Regions from separate parts of the Homo sapiens genome. Here region 1 is linked to region 2. The links are contacts of gene promoters, found by promoter capture Hi-C in blood cells and fetal thymus (Javierre and others, 2016). All regions are on one chromosome and are shown on one strand. The core of a region is centred on a gene start or on the middle of the fragment in contact, and the rest is flanking DNA. Distances in the headings are between cores, read along the strand shown. Region 1 overlaps CCL17 (C-C motif chemokine ligand 17). Region 2 holds the start of RSPRY1 (ring finger and SPRY domain containing 1).

What was found. Contacts are between HindIII fragments. The CHiCAGO score rates a contact against its expected background, and 5 or more counts as called.
Region 1: a contact is called between a fragment that was not itself captured here and the fragment with the promoter of RSPRY1 in region 2, in 1 of 17 cell types (endothelial precursors). The highest score is 5.9, in endothelial precursors.

The regions. Positions count from the first base shown.
Region 1 is chr16:57,414,533-57,420,471 of GRCh38, forward strand. CCL17 (C-C motif chemokine ligand 17) reads left to right here. Exons shown (of 4, transcript NM_002987.3): 3 at 549-666; 4 at 1,233-1,531. The coding sequence ends at 1,329. Among named protein-coding and RNA genes, the nearest start is that of CCL17, 13 kb to the left of the region's middle. RefSeq lists enhancers at 1,585-2,100, 2,101-2,616, 3,133-3,647. The HindIII fragment of the contact is 1,450 bases long and covers 1,946-3,395 here.
Region 2 is chr16:57,182,024-57,187,733 of GRCh38, forward strand. It overlaps RSPRY1 (ring finger and SPRY domain containing 1), which reads left to right and starts at 4,306. Exons shown (of 15, transcript NM_133368.3): 1 at 4,306-4,428. It overlaps PSME3IP1 (proteasome activator subunit 3 interacting protein 1), which reads right to left and starts at 4,016. Exons shown (of 7, transcript NM_024946.4): 1 at 3,798-4,016. RefSeq lists enhancers at 3,641-3,690, 5,002-5,646 and a silencer at 4,391-4,600. The HindIII fragment of the contact is 4,622 bases long and covers 1,101-5,710 here.

The sequences.
Region 1 (5,939 bases), core at 1,421-3,920, 230 kb after region 2:
CTCAGCCTCCCGAGTAGCTGGGAATATAGGTGCCCGGCCACCACGCCACCAATGGGTTTTCACCATGTTGGTCAGGCTGGTCTCGAACTCCTGACCTCAGGCCATCCACCCGCCTTGGCCTCCCAAAGTGCTGGGATTACAGGCATGAGCCACGGCGCCCAGACTGAAAAAAGAGATTCTTATATTAGGTTGGGAAAGGAAAAATGAAATAAGGTTGCCAGGTATAGACATACAGGGACGCGCACAGATGCACAGAGACACACACGTAGGCACTCACAGGACACACAGAATCCCCCACAGACACACAAAACATGCACACCCACAAACACACGGGACCCCACAACATACACAGAAGCCTCACACACACCTGTGTATGGTAACACACAGACACACACACATACACATAGGCAGTGATACACATGCAGTCATCACACACAGATGCACACATGGACACGCACATGCAGATCTTCCACGAACACCCCCCAGAGGTCCCCGCAACACACACGCAGACACTCACAGACACCCCTGCCCCGCTCCTCTCCCTGCAGCTCGAGGGACCAATGTGGGCCGGGAGTGCTGCCTGGAGTACTTCAAGGGAGCCATTCCCCTTAGAAAGCTGAAGACGTGGTACCAGACATCTGAGGACTGCTCCAGGGATGCCATCGTGTAAGTCCCCCTGGCTCCACCCCTGCTCCTCAGGGCCAAGCATGGGGACAAGTGCACCCTGGAGCTCCCAGGACGGCCAATGGGGAGCAGGGAAGAGACAGCGGGGCCTTCCTCCCCAACCCCTGCAGGCTCCCCACACTGTGGGACCCAAAAGGGCCGCAGGCCATGAGGTCCAACCTATTCCTTGATTTGTGGTGAAATTGAGGCCCCGGGAGCAATGAACACCCCCAGGTCACACAGCTGGTCAGGGGCAATGTGGTCACCTCCCCCAGCCTGGGCCTGAGCCCTGCCCGCAGTCTCCACGTCCCAGGCTCTAGACTGTCTGGGGGCATGGGCAGGCTGAGGGGTGGGCACAAGTTCCTGCAGCCCTGGCTCCCTGGGAGGGTCGAGATTACTCGGGACAGAGCCTGAAGTCCCAGATCTGCCACCAATGCCCTGTGTGACAGCAGCAACTTCCTGCCCCTCTTGGAGCCTTGGAATCCTGGTCAGCACAGGGCGGGCCGTCCCAGGGACTCTGGGGGCCCTTCCCCCCCTGCCACTCCTGGTAACGTCCTCCTTCTGTGTAGTTTTGTAACTGTGCAGGGCAGGGCCATCTGTTCGGACCCCAACAACAAGAGAGTGAAGAATGCAGTTAAATACCTGCAAAGCCTTGAGAGGTCTTGAAGCCTCCTCACCCCAGACTCCTGACTGTCTCCCGGGACTACCTGGGACCTCCACCGTTGGTGTTCACCGCCCCCACCCTGAGCGCCTGGGTCCAGGGGAGGCCTTCCAGGGACGAAGAAGAGCCACAGTGAGGGAGATCCCATCCCCTTGTCTGAACTGGAGCCATGGGCACAAAGGGCCCAGATTAAAGTCTTTATCCTCAGTCTGTGTCAGCGTGTCTGTCCCCACAGCGCAAGATGCGCTTCCACTCCGGCCTGTCACTCTGGGAGGGTTCTCAGAGAACCTCTGGTCCTGCCCTGTGCAGGTCGGAAAGGGAAACTGAGGCTGAGAAGGGCACGTGGCTTCCGCAGACCACGCACCAGTGAGGGGAGGCCCTGGTGAGAGGCCCGGGCAGGGGCGGGGTTGGCGGGGTCCTGGGAGGCGGCCGCTGGATTCTCTCCCTACCCACCCCAAGGTCTCCCGGTTTCCCCCCAGCCCAGCTCCTGTTCTTGCCCCACGTGGAGCTGAGGACAAACTTCCCCGAGGTGCTGGAGTCAATTTCACAGACTGGCCAGGACCCTGCCGCAGGCCACAGCTCTGCCCAGTGCTGGGGAGCCCCCTGGCCAAGGGTGGGGGAAGCTTGTAGCCCTGTCCTTGCCTTCCCCTGCACTCACTGCAGTCCAGCTGGCCCGGCTCCTCCTGGCCCTGGCTCCCTCTCCCCGCTCAAACTCCAGACCCCAGCTCCAGGGCGAGGGGGCTCTGTGGGTCCTGGGCCCTCTGCCTGCGGCTGACTTCCTAGCCCACTCCAGGCTCAGGCAGGCGGGCGCCACGCGGCCCTGTGGTTCCTCCTGACTGAAGTGTGATCCCCACCCGGCCCTGGCTGCGCCCAGCCTGCCGGAAGCCGGCCCAGCACAACCGCCCACCGACTCGCTCCCCCAGCTCTTAGGGACTGCCCTGAAGCCGACCCCTGCTCCGCGTGGTTCTCTCATTGTGTGTGTGTGTGTGTGTGTGTGTGTGTGTGTGTGCGTGCGCGTGTGTGGCAGTCCCAGCTCCTCCATTAGGTTGAGAGCTCCGTGAGCCACTCCGGGGACCCCACACCCCTGTGCTAAAAAAGATGGGGACTAGAGGCTCAGGACACCCCACCCCCAGACCCCTCTGCCCATGCCCAGCTAAGGGCTGAGCACAGAGGAGTCGGGGCCTAAGCCTTCTAGTTCTCTCTCACTCTCCCAACCAGCGATGGGGCCGTGGCTTCTCTCTGAACACAGTTTGGCGGCAGGGGCGCGGGTCCTTCTCTTCCGAGGACCTTGTGGCGGGCATTGTTTGGTGGGGCTGCGGTTAGAAGGGCAATTTCCAGGCCCGGCTGTTGCCTCCTGCTGCTCCCTTGTGGCCAGTCAGCTCATTGCAGGGCAGATGATAGAACCCAAGTTTACTTTCCAGTACGGGCACAGCGATAACGAGGTTGATAAAACCAGTGAACTGGCTTGCCTGTGACTCTAGGGTCTCTTCAGCCGCAAGTGGGCTCATCTCCTGTCCTGATGCCGAGGAGGATCACTTGAACAACTGCCTAAGACCCAGAGTCCTGGGGATGGCCCAGTCTGAGTTCTTCATGGAAAATTGTCCTCTGAATCCACCGGGAGGAGGAAGGATGATCTAAAAAGGGAGGGAGGCAAGGAGAAGCTCCTAAGACAGCAAAGGCCAGAGACAGCCGGGGTCTGGACCCCTGCACCCTGCAGGCGAGAGCTGGAAGGACTCTCAGAGTGCAATGGCTCCATCTCAGCTCACTGCAACCTCCGCCTCCCAGGTTCAAGCGATTCTCCTGCTTCAGCCTCCTAAGTAGCTGGGATTACAGGCGCCCGCCACCACACCCGGCTAATTTTTTTGTATTTTTAGTAGAGACGGGGTTTCACCATGTCGGTCAGGCTGGTCTTGAACTCTTGGCCTTATGTGATCCACTCGCCTTGGCCTCCCAAAGTGCTGAGATTACAGGCATGAGCCACCGCGCCTGGCCTCCAGCAAACTTCGTTTAAAAAAGCAAGACCTTTTTTGTTTTTTCCCTACTGAAATCCTACTCAGAAGCCCATATTGTAAGCTTAGGTAAGTAGAGCTGCCGTGGAGGCCTGTGAGGAGGTGGGGAGTTGCCAGAGGGTCCCTGAAAGTGAGATAGGGTGGGGCATTGCATAAAGGCAGGGAAGAGGTGGATCCAGGACTGGCAACAAAACGCAGGATTCAGAATCCAAGTATTCACGAGCAGCATCCGGTGCAAGCTGGGGGATGGTGAGATGCAAGAGATAGGACAACTGCCATGTGACCTTAGGGCATTTTAAGGAGGTGTGACCTGGAGACTGCTGTGATTGGAAAGACTGCTGGGAGGGAAAAAGAGGAATGGGCAGGTTCGGGGTGAAAAGTGAGGAGAAGCGCCAGACTTATGTTGTTTCTTTCACCTGGTAGGTGCCTCCCCTCCTCCCCCACCCCACCCCTGCTTTTTTTTTTTTTTTTTTTTTTTTTTTTTTTCAGATGGAGTCTGGCTCTGTGACCCAGGCTGGAGTGCAGTGGTGCGATCTGGCTCACTGCAACCTCTGTCTCCCGGGTTCAAGCGATTCTCATGCCTCAGCTTCCTGAGTAGCTGGGATTATAGGTGTGCACCACCACACCTGGCTGATTTTTGTATTTTTAGAAGAGATGGGGTTTTACCATGTTGGCCAGGCTGGTCTCGAACTCCCGAGCTCAAGTGATCCGCCCACCTCGGCCTCCCAAAGTGCTGGGATTACAGGCGTGAGCCACTATTCTGAAATCCAGTTTCTCTTCAACGCTCAACTCAGTGCTGCCTCTGCCACAGCCAGCCTACTCAACCTCAGCTGTGTGTCCTCCACCTGCACCCAACGCTCACCTTAGTCTAATCCTGACCACACTCTACCCCTTGTAATTGGAGCTGCTTGGGTGATTTACCCAATAAACTCACTGAGCAGGTATTTGGGTCAGGAAACAGTACCAGACTCATTTATGAGGAGGGAAAAAAGCTTTGTGCACAGTGTATATTTGATTTATACATTTTCATCAGTGCTGCTCAGGTGAATTCCACAAGGGGCACTAGTGGGGAAAGAGAAATTTCCTGGGGAGCCCTAATAACCCGGCTTGAAGCATATTGCATCTCCAAACGTGGAAATTAGAATTGGGTTGTTTTCCAGTGGCCCACCAGAGGGCACTCTGCTCTTAGGAGGAAGTTCTGAGGCTGATGCGCCAGGGGCCCTGACCCCACCAGCCAGACTCCGGCCCCATCGCTGTCCCCAGGGGCTGGGATCAGCCACATCTGGTTGTAGCTGCACTAGGCCTTGGGGCAGGGGTGTCTGTAGCTGGCCGGCTCTCCTCTTGTGGGAACAGAAGCAAAGAAACCGCCAATTACACTGTCTGGGGTTTGCTGGATGAAGAGGAAGAAGGAAGAAACCCTGCTGGGACTAGCAGGGCCACTAACTCCAGACGCAACCTGGGCAGTGCCAAGAGCTGTGGGCTGGGGTGTTTCACTGTGTTTTCTTAGAGACTGTATTTGGTCTATTTGGCATCCATTTATCACAGGGCCAAATCACAGGGCCAAAAGCATTTATACCTCCCCTGCAAGCTGGTTTTTGCAAGTGTTTGAAAGTAATAATAGTTACAAACCCTCCAACCAATCCCAATCACAGGCCCCCCAACCATCTCTATTTAACTCTCACACCAAGCCAGTATTTCCCCTGCCCTAAATCACCCAGAGCCAGGTAGAGACAACTAGGGACGGCCCCTAAGCCCAAGGCCCCCTGGAATTATTCCAACTAGCCAGACCCGGGCTGCTTCCCCTGGCCTGCCTTGCACTTCGGGTGGAAACCCCACAAAAGGCTGTGGCCTGTGCTGTTCTGATCCTTCCTTTCAGCCTCCTGACCAAACTTGGTGCTCCCCCTGTGGCCCCGTGTGTGGTCCTGCGTGTGTGCCATGCCCTGTTCTCCTGGGAGATGCAAGTGATGAATTCTTTCAGTGTCCTTGGTCGCTCTGTGTTGTCACTCAGTCACCTCCATCAATTCAAATCCTGGGGGTACATTTTAAATTTTTTAAATTGATGCATAGTAATTGTACATATTTATGGGATACATATGATACTGTGACACAAGCATACAATGCATAGTGATCAGATCAAGGTAATCAGGATATCCATCACCTCGAACATTTATCATTTCACTGTGTTGGGAACGTTTCAAATCTTCTCTTCTAGCTATTTTGAAATATACAATAGGCTGGGCATAGTGGCTCACACCTGTAATCCCAGCACTCTGGGAGGCCAAGGTGGGAGGATCACTTGAGCCCAGGAGTCTGAGACCAGTCTGGGCAACATAGTGAGACTCAGTCTTTACGAAATGCACAAATTAGCCAGGCATGGTAGCATGCGCCTGTGCTGCCAGCTACTCAGGAGGCTGAGGTGGGAGGATCACTTGAGCACAGCAGGTCAAGGCTGCAGTGAACTGTGATGGTGCCACTGCACTCCAGCCGGGGTTACAGAGGGAGACCCTGTCTCAAAAAGAAAAAAAAGGCTGGGCATGGTGGCTCACGCCTGTAATCCTAGCACTTTGGGAGGCCAAAGTAGGTAGATCACCTGAGGTCAGGAGTTC
Region 2 (5,710 bases), core at 3,056-5,555:
AGAGGTTGGACATTGGTTGAAGGTCCCAACCCTCTAATCCTGCCTGGGTCTTTCAAGTGACCAGCCCCCATGCTAAAGTTACTTAGGGGCTGCCAGCCATCAGTCAGCTCCTTAGCATATAAAAAGACACTAATCATTTTGGAGATTTCAAGGATTATAGGAGTCATATGCCACAGGAGACAGGGATGAAGGCCAAATATGTATTTTACAATATCACACTGGCCATGTCAGAGTTCTGCAACACTGGTATTCCTACAATTAACATGCTGCCTCCCTGAGATTTCAAGGGTAGCTTTGCTTGTAAGCTATTTTGTCATCTAGGCTCGCTTCAGAACCTAACCCACACCTCAAGTCATACTCCATCCTCCCTCCCCCCACCCTATATAACTCCACTTCAAGACCAAATTAAAAACAAAATAAAACAAAAAAACGCAGTCCCAGTTACTCAGGAGGCTGAGACTGGAGGACTGCTTGAGCCTAGGAGTTCAAGGCCAGCCCGGGCAACATAAGGAGATACCCATTTCCCTTAAAAAAAAAAAAAAAAAAAAAAAAACTTTGCATTACAATAACCAGACAAGGCCAACTAAGATTTTTTTTTTTTTTTTTTTTGGCGCAGTGGCTCATGCCTGTAACCCTAGCACTCTGGGAGACTGAGGCAGGTGGATCACCTGAGGTCAGAAGTTCGAGACCAGCCTGACCAACATGGTGAAACTCCGTCTCTACTAAAAATATGAAAATTAGCCAGGCGTAGTAGCACATGCCTGTAATCCCAGCTACTCGGGAGGCTGAGGAAGGAGAGTTGCTTGAACCCGGGAGGCGGAGGTTGTAGTGAGCCGAGATCGCGCCACTGCACTCCAGCCTGCGCGAAGTGGGCGAGACTCCATCTCAAAGAAAAAAGATTTTTGAAGCAAATATTTACCGAGAACCTATTATGTGCAAGATACAATGCTATGTACTAAACAGGCAACTGAGGAACTTACACTCATTCAGTAAAAGACATAAGGTTGGCACACAGCAATTTAAGGAAAAGTAAAACTAGGTTACAGGCCATAAGAGGCACTAAGCAGTTCAGAAAGGAAGACTAGAATAAGCATTGGGGAAGCTTAATTTTCATAATGGCTGTGACGATGCACAGTGAAAAGTGGTGGAAATTTTAGGTATATGAAGAATAACCATCTTTAACTTGGAAATCACACAAATTTCACATTCCAAATTTCAGAATACAGGGGGATTTTCATTTCTTGAAATAGTGGGCTAGGTAATTGAAACCAATTCTCCACCTCTGCACTAAATATGCTGGAAATTTGTCAAAAATAATTTTTTTTTTGAGATAGGGTCTCGCTCTGTCACACAGACTAGAGTGCAGTGGCATGATCTCAGCTCATTGCAACCTCCACCTCCCAGGTTCAAGCGATTCTCCTACCTCTGCCTCCCGAATAGCTGGGATTGCAGGTGCCCGCCACCATGACTGGCTAATTTTTGTATTTTTAGTAGAGACAGGGTTTCACCATGTTGGCCAGGCTGGTCTCAAACTCCTGACCTCAAGTGATCTGCCCACCTCGACCTACCAAAGTGCTGGGATTACAAGTGTAAGCTACCACGCCCAGCCAAAAATATTAATTCTTAAATAGAAAAGCTAACAAGATAGTAAAGAATTTGGACACAATCTAGAAGGTGAAAACCAGAAATTAAGCCCAATATTCAAAATGGATTTCATCCTGAGGACTTCTCTGACCTAAAAGCTAAAGTTTCAGTGCCTTTATGAGATAACAGAAACAAGTTCAAGCCAGGAGCCCATCCAGGGAGTGGAGTCTGACAACTACCTCCCTCTCCATCTTAATCTTGTGCCCAAAAGAACTACAGCTTCAAAGTAAAGGTGAACTGGGAAGTAAAACAGCAGGAATAATGGACAACAGAAACAGACTCCCCCAAAGGGAATTCAGACAGTGGAATTAAACATAGAGATTATAAAAACAACTATACTTTCCATGTTTAAAGAAATAAAATTAAGCCTCAAAATAGTAAGAAATAAAAAACTGTAAAAGTGTCACAAACCAAACAGAACTTCAGAAACTAAAAATTGCAATATATGATTTAAGATTTCAGAGGCCGAGTTTAATAACAATGGAAATAACTTGAGAATAAATTATCCAGAATGTACTACGAAAGAACAGAGTAAAAGACATAGAGAAAAGAGTGAAAAGGTTTAGTTAAATCGATAAAAAAAAAAAGAGAAACAATGGGAAGAAGCAATATATGCATATAAAATGGCTGAGAATTTTACAGAATTAATGAAAGACACTAATCCACAGATTCAAGAAGTCTAATAAATACCAAACAAATTGAACAAAAACAAACCCATAGTTCCATAGAGCATAGTGGAAATACAGAAAACCAAACACAAAACAATCTTTTTTTTAAACTTGTCGATACTTGATTTTAGACAAAACAATCTTAACAACATATTCTATAGTAAAGAGTGAAACATAATATTTAAGAATGAAGACAAAGTATGTTCAAAAGGTGACTAATGGTGAACACGTTGAAAATGCTTAATTTAGCTGCCATAAAGGCATAATTACACTATGACTGACCCTGTACGTACATCGCACTTGTTACTTGATTTACCACATACGTGGTTTTCAATAGCTAAAGCAGCAGCTTGATTCTAACCAAGCATCACCATTCTTGGAAGATGAAAGTGAAGACTGATAATCAACTAAATGGTTTTGACACAATTATTCCTTTCTTATATCATGAAGCACTTCCCCACAGGGTAAGGACATGAAGACTTCAGTTGAGAAAGATAATCGGGCAGCCTCTACTTTCAGATCCTTACAAATTGTTCGCAGGTCATCTAACTAAAAGACTGTAAAAGCTGCTGTCGGCTCAATACTTTGTATCAAAAAGGAGTCTACCCACTGATTCCCTTCAAATATTTCAGAAGGGTGCCTTCCATTTTATGGTGTCCCTGTGGACACATGAATACACCAAATAACTGATGAATCGACAAATCTTATGTCACAGGTGGTAGGCAAGAGGTCATCGGGAATTCCGATCACCAGGCTCGCATCTGGCTTCTTGGGTCCCACTCCTGAACTAACCAGTCGGGCTACCCGAGCGTGCGGGAGTCTGAGAAACTGCATTTTAAAAGGGCCCCAGGAGATCTTGTTTTCCACTAACATTAAAGAACCACGACTACGAACAAACAGGTCTCCCCCTTTCCTCTGTGTGGACTGACAGTCACAAGGACCACCAACTCTCAAGCATGACGCTTCAACTCTCTTTGTTTCTTAAGTTTTCTGCAAAACGGGCCAGCTGGCTTGTTTTCCGTAATAGAAAATTCGCTTGGCACAGCAACTGGTACATGGCACACAATAAATGTGCTTCCCATCCTGCACTGCCATTCTGGGATTCAACCATTTCCAACCAGACGCCGCACATCCGAGTGAGTAACCTGGACCTGTTCCAAGACCTCTGGAACGGAGCCTGCTACTCACTTGAAACCTGGGTGGCCCTACCTAGCAGAAAATTGGGGAAACCCCATTAAACGCCCGGCAGTGTTGGGCCCGCCTGAAAGGGTCCTCGCCGCGACCCAGATGCCTTCCCGCGGGCACCCTCAGCTCCCCTCAGGCTGGGCCCGCAAGCCCCAGGCTTCGGCTACTCCGGACAAGGAGCGGGTGCGCGGACTGAGAACAGGCCTGGCCCTAACCCTAACAGCAGCCGCAGCTCATCTCTTCCGTAAGGAAGCTGGAACCCAGGTGTCGCCGCCAGGCCAGGACCGAGGCCGCACTCACCTACCGGCGCGCGGGAGGCGAGACGACCTCACCTCGGCGGCGCCCACCCCAAACCGCCACCGCAGAGCCGCTCGCTCTTAAAAAAGAAAAAAAAATGAAAGGAAGAAAGAAAGAAACAGAGGAAGGAATGAATGAAAGAAAGAAAAAAAAAAAGAAAATAGCCTTTGCTTTTGTATTTCTTTTGACCCTTCAGGGCTTCCTGTTCCTCACCGCCACAATAGAGTCCCGCCCCACTTCCGGCGACGTAACCCAATCCGCGGAGCTCTTCCTCCCCGGGAGCCCGATGGAAATCCGGTACCCTGAAAACGAGCCGGAGAGACTTGATTGGGCCATTCACGCCTCAGGATGAGGACTGGCCAGTCTGCGCCTGGAGGGCGGGCCGGTCCCGCTGATCACGTGACACGATTTTTGAAAGGTGATTGGCTGTCAAGGAGAGGGCTTGCCACCGAGGAAGGGGCGTTTCCTAGGGGACTGAGGGAGGGCTGGGGCGGTACGAAGCGGGGGTGGGCTCTGCGCGTAATGGCAGCGCCGTGGCCTCGCGTCCATCTTTGCCGTTCTCTCGGACCTGTCACAAAGGAGTCGCGCCGCCGCCGCCGCCCCCTCCCTCCGGTGGGCCCGGGAGGTAGAGAAAGTCAGTGCCACAGCCCGACCGCGCTGCTCTGAGCCCTGGGCACGCGGAACGGGAGGGAGTCTGAGGGTTGGGGACGTCTGTGAGGGAGGGGAACAGCCGCTCGAGCCTGGGGCGGGCGGACCGGACTGGGGCCGGGGTAGGCTCTGGAAAGGGCCCGGGAGAGAGGTGGCGTTGGTCAGAACCTGAGAAACAGCCGAGAGGTTTTCCACCGAGGCCCGCGCTTGAGGGATCTGAAGAGGTTCCTAGAAGAGGGTGTTCCCTCTTTCGGGGGTCCTCACCAGAAGAGGTTCTTGGGGGTCGCCCTTCTGAGGAGGCTGCGGCTAACAGGGCCCAGGTGAGAGGCAGCTATCTATCTCCTGGGGTGGCTCCTGGTACCGATGGGGTCCTGACCTACTCAGGGGTGCCCGGGATAGAAAGGGTAGATGAAGGGACGCTTTAGGAGGGTTCTTTTTGTGGAGTTTACGGTCTAGGTGGCACGGATGAGGCATACCTCCCCGGGGAGATTTAGAAACGCCTTGGGATAGAGAGAGAATGGGGCTAGGAAGCAGGAGCTAGAACTAGCGGAATGTCCTACTACGGAAGCCGGAGCTGAAAATTGGGTAAGGACCTTGGGGAGAGGGGATTTCTGGGCGGTGATGGGAAGAAGACACCTCCATCCACAGGAAAGCCAGAGTGGGGAGTAGTGAAAGGGAAACGGGAATTATTCCCTCTCTCTGTAGATCGACCAGGTGTCCCAGACACAGGATCCAACTGCTTCCGGGCTTATTGCCCGAGTGGGGTGGGGAGAGTCTATCCCACCAACACCCCTTGCGTGAGTCCAAATTAGGCATTTGTCTCTCCTGCTGCCTCACTTTCCCCGTCTTTGGGGAGGGAAACCGACTGAGACCGAGGCGGTCGGCTGAGACTCCGAGGTCCTGTCTTGTATAGTTCTCTGAGAGAGGTTGCTCCCCCTGGAGTGTTGTACTTTGAACTTTGAAGGGTTAGAAGTGTCTGTTATCGACTGAGTAGAATCCCGCAGTTTTCCAGGCCCTTTACCTACCATCTGTTCTTGCTTAGTGGAGTGACTTAACCTCCTTAAGTCTCTACTGTAAAATAACCAGCGCAGTATGTGAAAGTACAAATTACAAGCTGCGTGAACGTAAGTTAGTGTGATTCTACCACCAAACGGGTTGCTGTTGAGGAATAAAAGTGAAGGCACTTTCTAAAATGTAAAGTAGTATGTAGAGGTAAGGGGTGGGATTAATACAGTCGTTGTCTGTCACCTGCGGAGTGCTGGGAGCCA